Linked DNA regions of Homo sapiens: region 1 is linked to region 2. Evidence: promoter capture Hi-C in 16 types of primary human blood cells and fetal thymus (Javierre and others, 2016). All regions are on one chromosome and are shown on one strand. Each heading gives the region's core, a stretch centred on a gene start or on the middle of the fragment in contact. The rest is flanking DNA. Distances are from core to core; before and after follow the strand shown. Region 1 overlaps ARHGAP30 (Rho GTPase activating protein 30). Region 2 holds the start of PEX19 (peroxisomal biogenesis factor 19).

Evidence for each region. Contacts are between HindIII fragments. The CHiCAGO score rates a contact against its expected background, and 5 or more counts as called.
Region 1: a fragment that was not itself captured here is called in contact with the fragment with the promoter of PEX19 in region 2 in 1 of 17 cell types (fetal thymus); the score reaches 7.6 in fetal thymus.

Annotation. Positions count from the first base shown.
Region 1 is chr1:161,049,404-161,055,103 of GRCh38, forward strand. It overlaps ARHGAP30 (Rho GTPase activating protein 30), which reads right to left. Exons shown (of 12, transcript NM_001025598.2): 4 at 5,220-5,302; 5 at 4,963-5,070; 6 at 3,855-3,982; 7 at 3,223-3,394; 8 at 3,037-3,140; 9 at 2,883-2,960; 10 at 1,911-2,312; 11 at 21-286. Among named protein-coding and RNA genes, the nearest start is that of USF1, 6.3 kb to the left of the region's middle. The HindIII fragment of the contact is 8,752 bases long and covers 1-5,700 here.
Region 2 is chr1:160,283,415-160,290,082 of GRCh38, forward strand. It overlaps PEX19 (peroxisomal biogenesis factor 19), which reads right to left and starts at 1,719. Exons shown (of 8, transcript NM_002857.4): 1 at 1,641-1,719; 2 at 116-225. The coding sequence starts at 1,710. LOC107985219 (a long non-coding RNA gene) reads left to right here and starts at 951. Exons shown (of 3, transcript XR_001738265.2): 1 at 951-1,441; 2 at 2,903-2,947. It overlaps COPA (coat protein complex I subunit alpha), which reads right to left. Exons shown (of 33, transcript NM_004371.4): 33 at 5,180-6,668. The HindIII fragment of the contact is 4,290 bases long and covers 1-1,853 here.

The DNA.
Region 1 (5,700 bases), core at 248-2,747, 770 kb after region 2:
CCCAGCACGGCTCTCCTTACCTGAGGCCCAACTCCCAGGAGCTCCTCCAGGTAGCCCATCCCAGGGTCGTCCTCCCCAGGGGAGAAGGCTGCTCCTGCTGCTTCTGCCTGGGCCACCTCCCCATCCTCTGCCCCCACCCACTCAGGTTCTGAGCTGCTTGAGTCCTCTAGGAAGGAGAAGGAGTCCTGCACCTCCTGGGACAGCGAGTCCTCCAGGGCAGGAGCCAAGTCGTCTGGGCCTGAGTCTGCCAGGGGACTTGAGGCTGGACTTGCTTCCAACTTTTCATCTGTTGGGGGAGAAGTAGTCCCAGGAATACAAAGGTCAAGCCCTGACCCTTTTCAGTGTGAGTCCTCCTAGCATTGATATAGCAGGGGCCCAGCACTCCCAGCATTGCTACTCTGCATGACTGATCCTTTCAGACCAATGTCCCTAGTTATTGGCTTGCTACCTTAATTGAGACCCTACCAGGTGCCAAGCACTGTGCTATGTATTTTACAATGCATTGGCATTTTTTCCTCCAAACTATTATGTGGGGTATTGTCCTCATTTTACATATGAGGAAACTGAGGCTCAGAGAGATTAAGCAATTTGTCTAAGGTCATGTAATGAATAAGCAGTACAGCCAAAATTTGAACCCAAGTCTACTTAACTCTATAGCCCATGTTCTTACCCACTATCCTATCCTGCCTCAGGACTTCTCATGAGTGACACTTCAGGAACTGGAGTCAGAGCAAGGATCAGATCCTAGCTCTGCTACTTCTACCTAAATCAATTGCAAATTGATTAACCTAAGTCTCAGTTTCCACTGCTGTAACATAAGGCTAACAATACCTATGTCATAAGATTATGAGAAAATGAAACAAACCAATCCTGCAATCACAGCACTTGGACCTTTTTTTTTTTTTTTTTTTTTGAGACGGAGTCTTGCTATGTCTCCCAGGCTGGAGTGCAGTGGCGCAATCTCAGCTCACTGCAACCTCCACCTCCTGGGTTGAACCAATTCTCCTGCCTCAGCCTTCTGAGTCTCTGGGATTACAGGCATGCCTCACCACGCACGCCTGGCTAATTTTTTTTTAATTTTTTTTAGTAGAGACGGGGTTTCACCATGTTGACCAGGCTGGTCTCGAACTCCTGACCTCCAGTGATCCACCCTCCTCAGCTTCCCAAAGTGTTGGGATTACAGGTGTGAGCCACCGTGCCTGGCCTAGCACTTGGTACTTAATAAACTGTTTTTTGTTTTTTTTTTTTTAATTTGAGACAGAGTTTTGCTCTTGTCGCCCAGGCTAGAGTGCAGTGGCGTGATCTCGGCTCGCTGCAGCCTCTGCCTCCTGGGTTCAAGCGATTCTCCTGCCTCAGCCTCCCAAGGAGCTGGGACCGCAGGCATCTGCCACCACACCTGGCCAGTTTTTTGCATTTTTAGTAGAGATGGGGTTTCGCCATGTTGGGCAGGCTGGTCTTGAACTCCTGACCTCAGGTGATCTGCCTGCCTAGGCATCCCAAAGTGCTGGGTTTACAGGCATGAGCCACGGCGCCTGGCTGGTACTTAATAAACTCTTGCTAAATGTTAGCTGATAGTATTGATGTTACTATTATTGTTACCCATCCATCTATTATATATTCCCACATTTGTCCTTAGTAATCCCTGCTGTATGTTTCTGACACAGGCCCCTATTCTTGGGTACATCAATGTTCTGAAGGCTGCTAGAGATCTCCTCTCCATAGATTTCACATAGCCTGATAATATTACTGGATTTCCCTAATCCTGAATCTAGGGAGGCAGCTAAAGGTAACCACCCCAAAGCCCAAGGGCTGAGGCCTCTGCCCTTCCTAGGGTGGATCTTCCAGCATCAGAGCTTCAGCCTAGAGTTCCAGTCCCCTTTCCTAGTCTTGGTCAATCAATGGGTCCTCACCTGGGGGGCCAGGGCCAAGGCCAGGGCCAGGGCCAGGGCCAGAGGCAGGGCTTGGCCGGTGCTGTAGAGCAGGGCACTCAAGGCCACGGGTGAGCCTGGCCAAGGAAACGTTAGAGATGATGTTCGGGGGCACACTGAGGATAGAGGTGATGTGTAGCGGGAGGTTGACATTGTAGGGGTCTGAGATGTGGACACCAGCACAGCGTTCTGCACGGCTGCTGCCCCCAGCCCGGATGGCTGACCGCCCAGCTCGTGGTGTGCCTGGTTCAGAGTTTGTGCCACCCAGTGCTTCTGCCTCAGGCTCCTGTTCACCCTCTGCTGCCTCTATAGAATCGTTCTCCAAGCTCTCAGGCAGCAATGGGCTTGGCCGGGGGCTGCTGGGCCCCACCAGCCCCTCTGGCTCTGTGGAGGAAAAAGAGGGCCAGGTAGGCAATAGCCTAAACTCCAAGGGGCCTAGACATCTCAAGAAGGCTCTGGAGAATGCTCTCTGCTTTCTCAGGCTTGAAAGCAACGATAGCCTGGAAGGCACCAGGCCCAGCTTCTTTTGATCACTACTGCAAACTTTTCACCCAGCCAGTAGGTCAAAGATCACCTCACCTTCACATACCTAGGGAACTCCCTTCCTTCCCTGCAGATACAGTCACTGGCCGTTGTCACCACCACCACCACCACCACCACCACCACCACCACCACCACCACCACCACCACCACCACCACCACCACCACCACCACCACCACCACCACCACATACCCATGCTGTCCCATCCCATACGAACACTCATCAACAAAGTCATAGATTAGACAATCAACTCACCGTAGCATTCAGCTACATTTACAATGTGGCTGGTATATAATAGGCACTCATTAAATATTTTTTGAAATTATTGAACACAGTTGGCTGCATGTACACACAAGCCCACGCTGGTCACATAGCACACACACATACACACAGAAATGCACCCCTATACTCACCATCACTGGCCCCAGCTGCAGCACTCAGTGAGTCCATGCTTTTGGCTGGCCGCAGTGTCCCCTTGTTGGATTTATCCTCTGTAAGACAGGGATGTGTGTAGAGCCAGGGCCTTGTGCACCCTCAGCAGAGCTCCCCCCATCTCCCCAGACTTACCCCTGTCCTCAGCCCCCCGTGGAAGTTTACGCTTAGTCTCATGGCCAGAGCGACCTAAATTGAAGATAGACCTCCACTTCCTGACCTTCAAAGACCCCTTCCTCCTACAAAGAATGGAGGGGCATAATTGGAGGTTGGAACATGAAGGTCGGTGCAGGGGAGGAAGGCCCAGGAAGGAGGCCTTACTTGTGCTCTGCAATCTCGATGATAGTATGGTAGGGCCGCATCTGTGGGGGTCCATCGCCAGCCTGCAGTATGCTAGGCAGGTGATAAGGCAGTGGCCTGGGCATAAGGTCCTCGGGGCTGCCTGATGCCCGGGTCCCTGGAAGCGATCGCCACCCACTCTCCACCTCACCACCTGGGAAAAGAAAAGGAATTGGCCAGCCAGGAACAGAGCCAAGAGAGGGACCTCAGGCACCCAATCCTTCATCACCCCTCGCCAACTACCAGGTTAGGGATATATTCAGAAGCCCCTGAAGACAGTGCCTCCATGTCCATCACCTCAAAAGAGTGCCCTCATGGACAAAGAGGGCTGGGAGATCCGAGAACGTTGGCCTGGTGGGCTGGGGGTGGATATGAGCCATCACTAGCCTTGGGAGCCAGGATGGTGACTCAGAGGTCAAGCCATGCCCTAGACTGACAGCAGAAGAAGTCTTCTCAAGTCCTGACTGCACAATTATCTCCCCAGGGTTCTCTCCATGTGGCCACTACCAACATCCCTGTATGAGACTCAGCTGAAGTAGGTGATCTTCAAGGCTCTCTGTAACTAACTTGACTCCCCAACAGTGGGATATGTGGAGGGCAGGAAGGACACTGACCAGAGAGGGCAGCACCCCCAAAGAGCTGGTCCACGTGTGTGAGGATGAACTCCACGACGATGGATTGTACCCGCACCTCCATGAAGGCCGCTGTCCCATTGAAGCCTGAGGCCTCTATGTCCTTAGACCTGTGGAGATGTGGAATTATTCTCCCCCTCAGCCCCACCAAACTTCCCAATCCAGATTCTCCCTGAAAATACCTTATTCTCTCTCTCTCTCTCTCTCTCTCTCTCTCTCTCTCTCTCTCTCGAATGACCTTAACCCCTTCTCTACCTCTTAAATTGTATGCATAATTCTTCCAATTCTCAAATGCCACTTGAAGACTTCTAGGAAGGAAGCCTTCTTGGACACCCGCCTCAGGATTAATCTCTATTTCCTTTGCACACCAGGGTGTCTAGTTTATAATGAATTTTATAATGAATTACAGGACTTCTCATAGTCTGTCTTGGACCACAGTGAGTGATATGCACAGTGAGCACAGCCAACAGACTGCAAGACGTTTTGCTCAACAAACATTTGGCGTGAGGCCGGACAGAGTGGCTCACACCTGTAATCCTAGCACTTGCACAGGGAGGAGGTGGGTGGATCACCTGAGGTCAGGAGTTCAAGATCAGCCTGACCAACATGGTGAAACCCCTTCTCTCTACTAAAAATACAAAAATTAGCCAGGCATGGTGGCTCATGCCTGTAATCCCAGCTACTCAGGAGGCTGAGGCACGAGAATCCCTTGAACCCAGGAAGCGGAGTTTGCAGTGAGTTGAGATCGCACCGCTGCTCTCCAGCCTGGGCAACAGAGCAAGACTCTGTCTCAAAAACAAACAAAAAATTGATATGGAACTGTTATGTTCCAGTCCCTGAGCTCAGTGACACACTGTAGGAAAACACAAAAGTCCTGCCTTTTAGGGACTTTATTTGATCACAGAGAAGGGACTAAAATAGATGGGGCCCATCCGACCCACCATGATCTTGAACCTTCTTTTCTCACTGGGCTTTGTGAGCCCTACACCCTTCTCCAGTGTACCCACACAGTCACACCTCATCCTGGGAGCAGCCTCCCAAAGGCCAGTGTCTCACAGGATCCCCATACACTGCTCACACAGGCACCTACCTCAGCAGGTTGGGAGCCCACACGATGGCCAGGTTGCGAGCATGCATGTTGGTCTGGGCACTGAATGAGGCCATGTGTACCAAGTGCCTCATGAGGAACTCCAGGGTCCTGCAGAAAGCGGGGGCAGGGATCACACAGGGAATGCCCAGGGCAGGCATTAGGGCTGGGACCTGGGAGCAGTAGGACCCAGTTAAGGCTCCAGGCAGCGAGTGAATGAGTTGTCTCAGGTTGCTGGGCAGATATGGAGTGTCACATACCTGTAGTTTGGGACAGGGAGTTCCCGAAGCACCTCTAGGATCTTGACCAAGCGCTCAGGTTCCAATTGCACTCCTACAGCCTCCTGATTGAGAAGAGTGCAAGAAGCAGGAATCAGTGACCCAGCAATGCCCCTGCTTACTCCCCAGAGCTTGTAACCAAGTTCTCAGGAACAATGTGCACTGGACTCTGTGCTACCCCATCCTACATCATCTGCGGTGCACTGACTTGGTAGAGAGAGCTCAGAATTGGGGTCCACGAAGATGGCAGCTGAATTTTGGTTATGCCACTTAATAGCTTTTGTGAACTTGGCAACTCGCTGCCTTACCATCCTCCATCCGTAGAGCTCTGGTACTGGGATACTTCAGTGGCGCCACCCTGTGGGTGCCCCAGGGACCACAGAGTTATTTCAGTGTGTCCAGGAAAGCTGTCCCCCACCCCAACCTAGCCGGTGTGGACTGAGCAGGGTGCTGCTAGGATTTA
Region 2 (6,668 bases), core at 469-2,968:
TGTGAGGCCAAGGTACCCTCCCACATTCCCCTCTGGCCCATAGGGGCCTGCCCAACCTCTGCTCAGGGCTGCATGCCCATCCCCTCCCCATCCCTTAAGGGGGTGGAATTTATACTTTGGCAGTGTCTCCTGGCGATCTCTTCTGGGGCCCCGAAGCATCAGGGGCCGTGGTGGTAGAAGGGGGTGCTGGGGAGGGTTTGGCTTTATCGAAATCATCAAGAGCACCTTCAGAGACAAGAGACATGGTGTGTGTGTTGGCGACAGATGAGAATGCAAGCAAGGCTGGGTGGTTTCTGGGCAAAGCATTAGGAATATGATTTTTCAAATTGCCAACTTTCCTCAATTTTCCTCCTTGAGTCCCCCACCTCCCCAGACCACCCTCAATGAGCCTCCTACTTCCTTCTGGATTACCTAATTTATTGTGAGCAAAGGCAAAGAAATCCCTTAAGGTGGAACAAATGTCCATCTCAGAGCTGGGAGGAGAGGATTAAAAAGTTCTGCAGAGACATCTCCATCTATAGTGTCTCCCTTGCCACACCCTAACGATTCCCTAGAAATCCCATACAAATACCCAACAGTAGTAGAGAACACAGATGTCCTCATCCCTCTGAACTCACTCTGGAGCTCTAAAAGGAATAACTTGGTGAGAAAGCACAGGACATCCCACCCAGCTTCCTGTTGGTACTGGTACCAGCACAGACTGAGGGACTACATACCAGACTCCATGGTACGGCATTAAACTATCTTCTCTTATTCTCCAGTTTAGTGCTCCCCAACAACCTTCTAGAGCTCCCTTTGGCCTGATCTCTGCAGATAACCGTACACTAATTTACACAGTCACTTGGCACTCCTCAGGGTTTCTGTTCATTTTTCTGCCTGCCCACATCTCCGTGATTGAGCAAGCGATTACAAATTCACCTCTGCCCTGAAAAGCCTGTGTCCTCACCACCATTCTGTTCGCCAGGCCTAGGGAGAGAGCACTGGCCCTACTCTGGGCAGGAAGTCAACAGGGGAGTGGAGAGTAATGCTAAGAAAACATCCCCCGTCTTTCAGGAGGGTGAACTGCTTTCCCCTGAAATCGCCACATCCTCAGTTTCTCAAAATAAGGGAAAGGAGTCCGCTTGAGCTACTGACAAGATGAAAGAACTGTTAAGGGGCCTAACGAGAGAAAGAGAAAAGGACTAGGAGGAGAAAAGTGTCTTTCGTGTTAAGGAAGACAGGACGAGGCACACAAGGACCGGCCACGAGCTTGCTAGGAGTTAATGTAAGCAATCAGTGAGTGCGTAGTTCGCTACCCAGCAAGAACCAAATGCTGCTGCTGCTGCTACTGCTGCTGAAGTCGAACTTTAAGAACTCAGTAACCTAAAGAGGAGTTTGAAGAGGTATCATGAAACGCCGTCCTGCGGAAACATCCACCATCCGGACCACTGAGGGACCCCAGGTGAGCTCCCCAGCTCCAGTCGCCGGGGTGGGGCAGGATGACCCAGAGATTTTTGGGGGGCTCGGGGGTCAGACTCTCCGCCCCCATTTAACCTTTGGAGAGCCTCTCCTGCCCGTCCCTAATATCTCAGGTTCACTTAACCCCCAGAATGGGTCCTCACACGTGCCCTCTTCGGGCCTTTCCCACTATGGGCTCTTACTTTCCAGAAGCTCCTCCAATTCCCTGTCCGCTTCGGCCCCGACACTACAGCCTTCCTCAGCGGCGGCCATCTTGCTACCTCCGACTTGCCGTAGGAGGCGGGACCTCCTCGGTGCCGACACGCCCTCCACCCCTTCGCTCCCGCCCTCTTCTGCCTCGGGTAACCAATGGTATTGTTGACCAGTGCGGAACCGCCATTTTTAAAGGGCCAGGAAGCTTTGAGTGTTTGTGTTTTGGGTATTTTTCCCTTTTCTCCTGTGAAACAGAATTAGGGATAAGATAGGGTTATTTTCTGTCTGGTTTTAGAGGCCCGGACTCCTTTCTTTCAACTTCCCAAATTACCTGGCGAAGCTCTTTCATTATTTTTTCCTGAGCTGTGAGTAGGCCAGATTGAGACAAACTGCCTACAAATAACCAGAATCTAAACATATATAATTGATATGACAATTATGGCACATAACATACTACTTTCTCTCACTTCATTTTTTTTTTTTTATTTTTTTTTGAGAAGGAATCTTGCTCTGTCGCCTACGCTGGAATGCAGTGGCGCCATCTCGGCTCACTGCAGCCTTGGCCTCCCGGGTTCAAGCGATTCTTCCTGCCTCAGCCTCCCGTGTAGCTGGGATGACAGGCGCGCGACACCACGTCCGACTAATTTTTGTAGAGACGGGGTTTTAACATGTTGGCCAGGCTGGTTGGCCAGGCTGGTCTCGAACTCCGGACCTCAGCTGATCCGCCCACCTCGGCCTCCCGAAGTGCTGGGATTACAGGCGTGAGCCACTGCGCCCGGCTTCACTTCATTGTTTCCCTCAAATATTATCTTTTCTGAAACGCTTTCCTTGGCCATTCCCGTTCCTTTTCTTCCTAACACTGAACAGTATCTGACATACTATCTACCGTACTTTTTTATTCTCCGCTCCCCACCCTGCAGAATTTAAACACCATGAACGCAAAGATTTTCGTCTGTTGTCTTCACTGCTGTAAAGCCCAACTCCCAGGCTAGGGTTTAAAACTTAGTAGGCATTCATTGGCCACTCTTTGCTCTCGCAGTCCCTAATCAGGCACATCTGTCTGCCCAATCTAGTGGCATCTCTCATTTCCTATTATCTATTAGAACTGTTTGATTAAAGGACACAGGGCCGGCCAGGAACTTAGAACTCCATGTTATTAAGAGAGCCTCTGGTACCTTGGACTGAGCAGGGCAATTCGAATGCAGTAGTAATAGACTTACTTTCCCTGAACAATCTCCTTTTCTCCACACAGAACCCAACCTCCAACTGAGTGAACACGGGGAATGCTCAGATAGAGGTAACTCTAGACGTCCCTTTCCTCCTTTGGAATTGTTCTATTCAGATGTCAGAATGTAGCAACTGTTTCACATACAAATCTGTTTTCGCACTTAGAGAGCACCTATTATTAAGGTCTTGTTCTGGGCACAGTGAGGACAGAGAGATAAATCAGGACCACCCCCTGCTGTAAGGTAGCTAAGTGGGGGTGAGCCGGAGGTATGATGAGATATACACACAGTATGATACAAGGTAAGAATTTTAAATGAAAAAAAATCCTGTGTTAAGTCACCTCATCACTTTCATTCTTAGCTTCCTAAACACACATTTGAGTACTGCATCAAGCACCAGATCAAGCACTTACTATGTCCTTCACAGATAGGGCACAGACTTGTAAAATCATATCTGCAAAACCTGTTTTCTTCCAACCACAAGTAGTGTGTTTTGGGATCAAAATATTATGAACTGTGAGTTAGAAAGCCTAAATTCCAGCCCCAATTCTGCCACTAATCACTTTTGAAGTCCTTTACAATTCTAAACTTCTGTAATCAAATCCTTTCCTGATAAACCTGTTTTCCAACACCTGCAACATAATTTATTCCAGACTTTCTCATTCAAACTGCTTACACGTGTATCTCCAATATGGCTATAGTTGTAACAAGCACGTCAAAAAAAGAAAACTTGTCTATCAACAGGCATCTCTATTGGTTTTATTTTTTGAGACAGAGTTTCACTGTTGCCCAGGCTGGAGTGCAGTGGTGCAATTTTGGCTCACTGCAGCCTCCACCTCCCGGGTTCAAGTGATTCTCCTGTCTCAGCCACCTGAGTAGCTGGGTCTGCAGGCTCGCGCCACCATGCCCAACTAATTTTTGTATTTTTAGTAGAGACAGTGTTTCACCATATTGGCCAGGCTGGTCTTTAACTCCTGACCTCAAGTGATATGCCCACCTTGGCCTCCCAAAGTACTGGGATTATAGATGTGAGCCACTACACTTGGTCAATTGGCTTTAAACTAATGTAATATAAGCATGTTAATTAAAAGATAATAGATGATAATTAAAATGGAGTCAAAAACAAGCATGATTCTTTCTTTGCATTATTTCTTAAACTTCTTTCTGCTTTTCTATTTTTACTCCTAATATTCCTAACATCTCATCTCAGTATTTACTGACCTACTGACTGCTCCTTCTGCCCTTCTAATGTATAGCGAATACTGTTGAATAACAGTATTTTATAACGCTTTCATATCACTCTGTTCCTTAAGGATTTAATGGTTCTCCACAGTTTATCGAACAAATTCTAATTCTTGCCTGGGAGTCACAATTATTTCACATCTTGTATTTTTAGTAGAGACAGGGTTTCACCATGTTAGCCAGGATGGTCTCGATCTCCTGACCTCGTGTTCCGCCTGCCTTGGCCTCCCAAAGTGCTGGGATTACAGGCGTGAGCCACCACGCCCGGCCTTTTTTTTTTTTTAAGACAAAGTCTTGCTCTTGTCCCCTAGGCTGGAGTGCAATGGTGTGATCTCAGTTCACTGCAACCTCCGCCTCCCGGGTTCAAGCAATTCTCCTGCCTCAGCCTCCTGAGTAGCTGGGATTACAGGTGCCTGCCACCCTACCCAGCTAATTTTTGTATTTTTCGTAGAAACAGGGTTTCACCGTGTTGGCCAGGCTGTTCTCGAACTCCTGACCTCAGGTGATCTGCCTGCCTTGGCCTCCCAAAGTGGTGGGATTACAGGCGTGAGCCACCACTCCCGGCTAATATGTACATTTTTTTTTTTTTTGAGACGAAGTCTCGCTCTTGTACCCCAGGGTGGAGTGCAATGGCACAATCTCATTAGTAGTATGTACTCTGTTGAGAAGGCAGCCTTAGTTTAGGGATGCTGTTTAAAAAAGCAACTCTTAAGATAAAGCTAAAAAATACAACGTATAGTATGAAGAGAAGTAAAAAACAAAGTGAAGCTCCCTAATATATTGATACGAGAAAATACCAAAAATGTTAAATGAAAAAACAAAGGTACAAAATTGTTAAATAGTGTGGTTTCATTTGTGTATAAAAGGAGATAGAGAATGGCATAGTGATATCAGCATGTGCATGTATATGTGTGTGTGTGTATATATATATATATATAAAATTTCTGGAAGGATGTAAGAAAGCTGGTAACAGTGGTTACCTGTTTAGGGGAAGGTGATAGGAACTGGGTGGCTGATGAAAGGGTGGAAAGATTTGTCACAGAATAGCTTTTTATATTTACTGATTTTTCAACTATATGCATTTATTATTTATTGAAAACATGAATTTAACACGCAAAAAAGTACTTATTTTAATCGAAGGCACAGTAATGTCACTCTACCCAATTATTCTTAGCATATGACAAGCAAAATATTGTATTGTTAATGTAATCATTGTATCATTGTAATATATATAAAGTACTATTCTTTTATCTGTATATTACATGTAAAATATCTAGAACAGTGACAGTCACATGGCAGGTGCTCAATAAATATTGCTATAATTAGCAAAAGATAAAAGGCTGCAATCAAAAACAGAATAAGGGAGCTACTTGCTTTCTATCATTTTCACAGCAGTTTAGGTCCTCATATATACCCTATGAAAAACATGTGCTTCTTTTTTTCTTTCTTTTTTTTTGAGATGGAGTCTCACTCTGTCGCCCAGGCTGGAGTGCGGTGGCGCGATCTCAGCTTACTGCAACCTCCGCCTCCCGGGTTCAAGCAATCCTCTGCCTCAGCCTCCAGAGTAGCTGGGATTACAGGCACCCACCACCATGCCCGGCTAGCTTTTTTTTTTTTTTTCCAATAGTGGATGTTTATTTTGTAATTAAAAATTATTACTGGAAGGAAGATATGTACTTTGGTGGGGTGCCTGCATGGGTGAACAAGAACATGAGAGTGTCCAAGAAATAAATGGCCAAGTCAAGAAGCTCTCATAGAGATTTATTTAGTGTGAGAAATATGAGAACAATAGTTGTAAAGAACAAATCAATAACCCGCAGTGTGCATTTTGGAAAACCAAATAACTTCTTCAAATTTCTGAGTACACAGAGGGTACCTGCCTTGAAATTTAAATGTCTAAGGAAAATGGGAGATGATTAAGAGTTGGTGTGGCCTAGTCACACCAAAATGTATTTATTACATCCTGCTCCTTTCTAGTTGACAGGAAAGAAAGCTGCTGTGGGGAAAGGAGGGATAAATACTGAAGGGATTTACTAAACAAATGTCCATCACAGAGTTTTCCTTTTTTTTTTTTTTGAGACAGAGTCTTGCTCTGTCACCCAGGCTGGAATGAAGTGGTATGATCTCAGTTGAATGCAACCTCCACCTCCTAGGTTCAAGCGATTCTCATGCCTCAGCCTCCTGAGCAGCTGGGACTATAGGCGCATGCTACCATGCCAGGCTAATTTTTATATTTTTATTAGAGACGGGGTGTTGCCATGTTGGCCAGGCAGGTCTCGAACTCCTGGCCTCAGATGATCTGCCCACCGTAGCCTCCCAAAGTGCTGGGATTACAGGTATGAGCCACTCCACCCAGCCCAGAGTTTTCATTTGTTCCTTAAAATAATTAAGCTGGAAAGGCAAGGACAATTATGAGCACAACTGTAGTCAAGTTGAGAAGACCTCAAAAAAGTCAAGTTTAGACCTTCGGATTTTCCATAGAAGAGAAAAAGATACTAGGTTTTAGGGTACAGAGAGCCAGATCTGAAGAGTAGCTGCAGGGGGAAGGTG